Regions from separate parts of the Homo sapiens genome. Here region 1 is linked to region 2. Evidence: promoter capture Hi-C in 16 types of primary human blood cells and fetal thymus (Javierre and others, 2016). All regions are on one chromosome and are shown on one strand. The core of a region is centred on a gene start or on the middle of the fragment in contact, and the rest is flanking DNA. Distances in the headings are between cores, read along the strand shown. Region 1 overlaps QTMAN (queuosine-tRNA mannosyltransferase). Region 2 holds the start of QTMAN-AS1 (QTMAN antisense RNA 1).

What was found. Contacts are between HindIII fragments. The CHiCAGO score rates a contact against its expected background, and 5 or more counts as called.
Region 1: a contact is called between a fragment that was not itself captured here and the fragment with the promoter of QTMAN-AS1 in region 2, in 1 of 17 cell types (megakaryocytes). The highest score is 5.6, in megakaryocytes.

What each region holds. Positions count from the first base shown.
Region 1 is chr2:144,142,764-144,145,941 of GRCh38, reverse strand. QTMAN (queuosine-tRNA mannosyltransferase) reads left to right here. Exons shown (of 12, transcript NM_001376312.2): 5 at 203-370. Among named protein-coding and RNA genes, the nearest start is that of QTMAN, 190 kb to the left of the region's middle. The HindIII fragment of the contact is 880 bases long and covers 994-1,873 here.
Region 2 is chr2:143,935,386-143,938,723 of GRCh38, reverse strand. It overlaps QTMAN-AS1 (QTMAN antisense RNA 1), which reads right to left and starts at 1,657. Exons shown (of 3, transcript NR_110237.1): 1 at 1,088-1,657. It overlaps QTMAN (queuosine-tRNA mannosyltransferase), which reads left to right. Exons shown (of 12, transcript NM_001376312.2): 12 at 1-656. RefSeq lists a silencer at 1,156-1,355 and an enhancer at 1,550-2,233. The HindIII fragment of the contact is 2,667 bases long and covers 1-2,353 here.

The DNA of each region.
Region 1 (3,178 bases), core at 184-2,683, 210 kb before region 2:
GGGACTTTATAGTTCTAAGCAGCTGCTTTTTAAGAGATCAAAACTTAGAATGCTGCTACATGGTATTAAGCCTCAACTATTGATGTGTCCCTATAGGGGATGTGTTTTTCTTGGGGTGGGAAGAGGAAAGAGGAGAGAAGAGCAAAGCATGATCCCTTCAAACATACTTGGGACAGTAAACCCCAATTTTCTTGTTTCCTAGGACCCTCTTTGCAAGTTCAGTGCTTAACCTGACCGAACTGGCTGCCCTTCGGCCTGACCTTGGGAAACTGAAAAAGATTCTGTATTTTCACGAGAACCAGTTGATATATCCTGTCAAGAAATGTCAGGAGAGGGATTTCCAATATGGATACAACCAAATTCTTTCATGGTAGGTATGGATTGTATCATTATATTTGGCCCTTTGCTACCTTTTTCTTTGTAGGTGGTTACGTTTTAAATCTGGAGACCTACTATTGTACACCTTTTTTTAAAACACCATAAGGTAGGTGCAAATATTTAAACAATTCTTCCTTCTGCAGTATATGTAAGATCACAACTAATCATTTTATAAAAATACATATATGTAACAATCTAATTATATGTTGAGCTAATTATCTATTTTTCACAACATTCAAAATAGAATTAAAAGGTTGGCAGGGACCTTCACCCCTTGATTTCATGATCTATTGCTTAAGGCATTTAGAAAGTGCAGTTAGTCAACTCTTACTTATTAATCACGATCACTGTATTCAGCTAAAATCAAAATAGAGTTTTACAGAGAAGTAAAAATTAAAGCATAATGGAGCAACTTGGGGTTTTGTCTCCCCCGCCTTTTTTTTTTTTTTTTTTTTAAATTGTAAGACAGAGAAGACTATGGACAATGAATCCTTAGGTAGTGTTTTCTTTTTTCCTTCGTTGAGTCTTCTGAAATGGCACAGCCTTAAAATACCATGACATTTTAAAGGTGATGGTCCTCTATTGTTACTTCGACAAAGTGTATCTCCTGAAGCTTAGTTAATGAAAGAAGTTAATAACAATTCTGAAATGGCTTTGCTATTGGATCCTATTCACATAACTGCAACAGTCAAACGGAATCTGTTTGTCAGTGATTTTGTACATTTTATTTATCTTTATTAACAGCTATTAGCAACTGGGTTTGATGATGTATTTGAACAGACCCGCAATTCTTGCAAGAATGTTTCATAGTTTAGTTGACATAGAAAAATGGCTATATAGTAATAATTCTGTGTTGTGTGCATTTTGTGAATGTTTTCCTACAATCATTTTTACAAGCTGCTTCAATTGTGAAGTAGCAGTGCTATCAAAATAGAGTGCAACTGCTTCACGTCAAATGTCTCATAAAAAAAGCAGCCGTTTTAAAATTTCATAATAAAATTAAAATACTTTATATTGAAACAGAGAAGGAAAATATGTTTTAAAAATGAAAATAAAATCATTTTGTGCTTTATCAATATGGAAAACATTTGTAATATTCTTTTGATTTCTTGAATTAGCATCATTCTTTTCCTCAGATAGTGTGTTTATTACCCCTGAGAAATCATTGGGAAAAAAACTAAGTCTATTTTTTCCTTTATGGGTGGCTTTAAAGTTAATGGAAGTTACATCCACTCATATCAGGGAGGAAATGTACCAAAAAGGATATTTCTGTAAACTATCTTGGATCTTTAATTTAGCATAGACTGGATTTTTAAGAATGTAAGTCATTGGGTCACATGCCGTTTGAGGGAAGCTATCTAAAAACAATTCAGCTCTCGATTCCTCCTCACTTTCATAAAACATTGTTTTTGCTGATAGGGAATGAGACTATAAAAGTTTTGTACATGATTTTTCAGCATTGCTTTTCTCAAGAGGGTAAACTTATAGACAAGCTTGGAGAGAGAGAAGTGTACTTCATCATCAGTTGGCTTCTTAATGGGGAAAAAATGGTTCACAGTTGTCCAGAGGAAAAATAAGAGTGTCAAAAGGCAGTCCTGTTCAGATTCTCTTTGAAAAGTATGACTCCTGCTTCCTCAAATGTTTCTTTAGTTTTCTTGCTGACTTCTGCTTTTTTTGGCACTGTCAGATTTCTTTCTGGACTGTGTGGCAGTTAAGGACTTTAAAGATGACTGACATAAGCACTCACCTTAAACAGTGATTTCACTAACCCTCTGACTTATGAACACATGTCACAACTATATATTATGACCTGTAGGTCACTATTACAATATGTGACATATGGTGAAAACAAGACTAGCTGTAAAACATCCTTCAACTTTTGGTATATTATTATATTAGCTTCCTTATTGCTTAGTGTTGTGTCAGCACTTCTGTGACATTCCTTTGTATTGTTCGTGTTGTAATCACCCACACCCCCCAAATTTGCACTAGGTAGCAACTAATAAACAATACTTGTATAGAAAATCAGTTTTTTTCAAGGGATGCACGGAAGTAGCAGGCCAACACTCTTTTTGTTCATTTTTTATTCTGCTAGATATTAACATTGTAATAGTAAATTTGGCTGTCTCAGCAAATATGACTTAAACTAAACTGACGTTTGGCTACGGCATTCCTATTCTATAAGCTCTACTTATTCTGTGGTGTTCTGCAGTCCTGTGGACATAACATGTCTTCTTTCCAGTAGTATTGATCTATCATTTTTAGGGTGGAATAAAACCAATTGCTTTATCCCTTTAATCTTGTATACAGATGTTCCTCAACTTACGATAGGATTACAGCCTGGTAAACCCATTATTGTGAGTTGAGAATATGATAAGTTGAAATGCATTTAATACAACTAACCTATCAGACATCATAGCTTAGCCTAACCTACCTTCAACATATTCAGAATACTTACATTAGCCTACAGTTGGGCAAAATCATCTGGCAGCACAGGCCACTGTAGAGTATTGGTTGTTTACCCTTGTGATCATGTGGCTGACTGAGATTTGTGCCTCACTGCTGCTGCCTAGCATCGTGAGAGAATATTGTGCACATACCATTAGCCCAGGAAAAGATCAAAATTCAGTATTCGAAGTATGGTTTCAATTGAATATATATTACATTTTCACCATTGTGAAATTTAAAAAATCTTAAGTTTGAACCATTGTTGTTGCGGACTGGTATTACCACATTTATTTCATTGAATTCGAAGATCATGGTGTTGCGGCGCTTTATAATTTATATGTACCTTTATGTA
Region 2 (3,338 bases), core at 408-2,907:
ACCACATTTAAAAAAAGGACTTGGAAATTTTATTTTTGAAATGCTGTTGGGGAGATGGCATTGATGAAAAAAAAAATTGAAAATGGAAAAAAACATCATCTACAAAGAGATGGGTAAAAATGACTAAGCAAAGAAGCCTTGTCACCTTCGACCTGATGCTTCATTGTATCAGAAGAAAGTAAACAGATTGCTAACAAAGAGACCACCCCTTCTAATTTCCAAAACCGGCCCAGCAACAAGAGGGAGAAAATAGAGAAGAGTGCACTGCGTGGTGGCTCAGGGTGATCCTTTAATTTGAGTGTTAAAAATGAGGGCACAGACCTAGAGGTTTTTAATGGTCCGCGGGTGGACTTCAGATTCTGAACACTCCTCCACCTTCTGTGGAGAATTCGGGACACGGTGGAGTTTAACCAGTATCTTAAATCCCAGGGACAGGGTGGAGATTGCTTTGTGATCCTGATTAATTAAAAGGAAAGAAATCAAAGCAGACATCTCTCCTTTTTCCATTTGAGCCGCAGAGCCATGGAGGGGAACTTGTGCTCTCTGGTGCTTGCAGCTATGTTCCCTGGCTTTCATCGTCTTGGCTTTTCCCCTTGTATTTCTAATGCTGTGATACCAGGCCAATAAAATGGAATCTACAAAACTGCAAAACAAAATTGTGTGTATGTGTGTGTGTATTAGAATTTTACTGAAGATAATTGCAACACTTTAAGCACAAAATTTTTAACTTAAAATGTATGAGTAATGAAGTTTTAAGAAGCAAAATGTGCTCAAGCGGAGTATTTGTAGTCCCTTTTTTGTAAGAGGTTCCCCAGACCTCTGGGTGCATCAGCAAACTGTCCTACACGATGGAGCGTGCAGCTGCAATTTGGCCCCGGGCACCACCTATCCAGAGTTACTACCTAATGCATTTTACATTTGCACACATTGTCAAGGGGTGGGGGGCAGCTAAGAAGGGGCCTCCCCCCCACCCCCCAGCGTTCTGTTTCCTTTTGTCGCGGCCGTCAGCTGACACGTGGAAAATGTGGTGTACGGTTTTGTTTGCCTTTTATCTGTAATTAAGGATCCCTTGTCTGGGGCTTGCTACCTCTTTTCTTTCTGCCTCCCTGCCGCTCGGGTCTTCCGCCCTCGGTCAGGTCTGGCCTGGCGCACCGCAGCCTGGGGACTCCGGGTCGCCGGGCGGAGAAGCAGGCAGTGGGCGCAGGGACCTCCGCGGAGCCCGGCGCTCGCCTGCCGAGAGAGCGCACGCCCCGGCACGCCGGCCCCGGCTCGCCCGAGCCCCCGACCAGCTAGTGCCTTGCGTCGGGGCAGCTGCGCCCGCGTTGCCCAGAGCGGGTCGCCTTGCCGCGCGTCCGTTCCCTCCACACCGCTGCGCCTGAGCGGCCAGCGAGCCCGAGCTCCGGTCTGCGGCGGCGCCCGCCCTCGACGCCTAGCTCAGTCTCGTCCAGAGCGGTGGGGGGAGTTTTCTGCACCTTTCAGGCGCGGGAACATGTCGAGGGACGGGGGAGGACGTTGAGGTCACGAAGTCATCACCCACTCCTCTCGGCTGCGTGGGCGCTGCGGGAGCGCAGAGCCGGAGCACGAGGGGCTCGTCCCAGGGCGCGGGCCCCGCCAGCCCCTGGCGCTCCCACCCGCGCGCACTCCCTCGCACACCCGCGCTGGCACGCGCACCCTGGCGCGCGAACTCCCTGCCACGCGCGCGCTGTCACGCACACACACCGGCACGCACCCGCCACGCTCGCGCCGACACTCCCAGGCTGGCACACGCACACGCGGTGGGGACCCACCCCTGCCCGGGTTTGGCTGCGCCGGGCTCGCGTGCTCTCTCTCGGGCACCCCCGGGAAGGGAGCGCAGCTCGGTGGGCCGGCACCCTGTGCTTTATGCGTCTGAGGATTTCATTGAACTCGGTTCCCTGAGTCGGCCAGGCTCAGTCCTCAGCGAGGGAATACGATGAAGACGCACTAAGCAAAACCAGAAACACCGATGCCTACTACCTTTTCAAAAAACATAACTTGCCCTCAGCAATCCCGCGAAGGGGAGTGGGGATGGGCACGGGGACTCTCCGAAAGGGATTTTATCTACACAGTTTAGAATAACTCCTGTCTCTGGTATGTTCGGATATGTGATTTAAATCTCACCCCCCGGACGCTTTCTTTTTCACTTCACACCTGTATATTGAAATACAAACCTCATTTCTCCTCCTCACCACCAACTGGTTATTTAGGAGGAGTGGAGAAGAGGAGTTAAGCAATATTGGGGCAGGAGAATATTTAGAAGCATTACATTGATTTGTCACTCATTTGCTCTGATTAGCTTTTTGAAAACTTGTGAAGATATTCCTATTTTGAAGCTTGTATTTTGTTAAAAGCCTCCCTCACACTGCCGTGATTTATCATTATTTATCTGAGTATACACACGTATGTATAGGAGAAAAGGAATGCTGATCCTTCCTGATTTCAGCAGTGCCGTTTTCCTTTCTATCCATGTGGTTTTAGCATAATTTTCTCCCTCTTTCTCACCAATAGAGATATTATAGTACGCAAAAGCAGGGCACACCTGTGACCAAATACAAGCAACATTAGCCTGGAGTGTTTGCGAATACTCCTTGTCATCTGTCGCTCAAGATTTCCCCCCTCAGATTTGAAATATTCCCCAAACTGGTTTAAAGGTGTGAGCGGGTGGGTTAACACGTGAGAGCAGTCCAAAAGTAAAGCGAGGTTGGGAGAGGGTGGCCTACATAAACCAACTCTTGGAAGGCTGAACAAGAACGCATGGGAAGTGCATTAAGAAGAGACTGTAAACAATGATAATCAGGGCTTTCAAAAATCATAAAACGGATTGAAATATCTGATTCATTATTTATTCATCACAGCGCAACTTTGCGAATCTGAGAATAGTGTTTGGAAACCAAGTGCCTTCTATTTAGTACATCAAATCAGCAGATGGGTCTCCCTTCCAAACTGCGGCTAAAGGGTTAAAGCTATAATTTTAGAAAAGAATCTTAGGAAATGACACTCAGATCTAATATATTTCCTTTTCTTTCTGGCAATAATATCCCCCAAAGAATAAATATATACTTATTGATATCATGATAATGTTTCTCATTCTGAGTACAAGTGTCAGACTGATTCCCGTTTGTGTAAGTGTTTTTAAAACTGCGAGGACACTTTCGCTACTCTGAAAGCTGACGAGCCAATGAAGGGGAGCTTCTTTTAACTCCATAATAGCAGGTTACATAGTAAATGAACACTGATGGTCAAATAGCCAATTATGGTATAAATATCCGTTGTTTACAGAGAGGTGTTAAATGAGCCTTGGAGTACAAGGGATTAGGCCG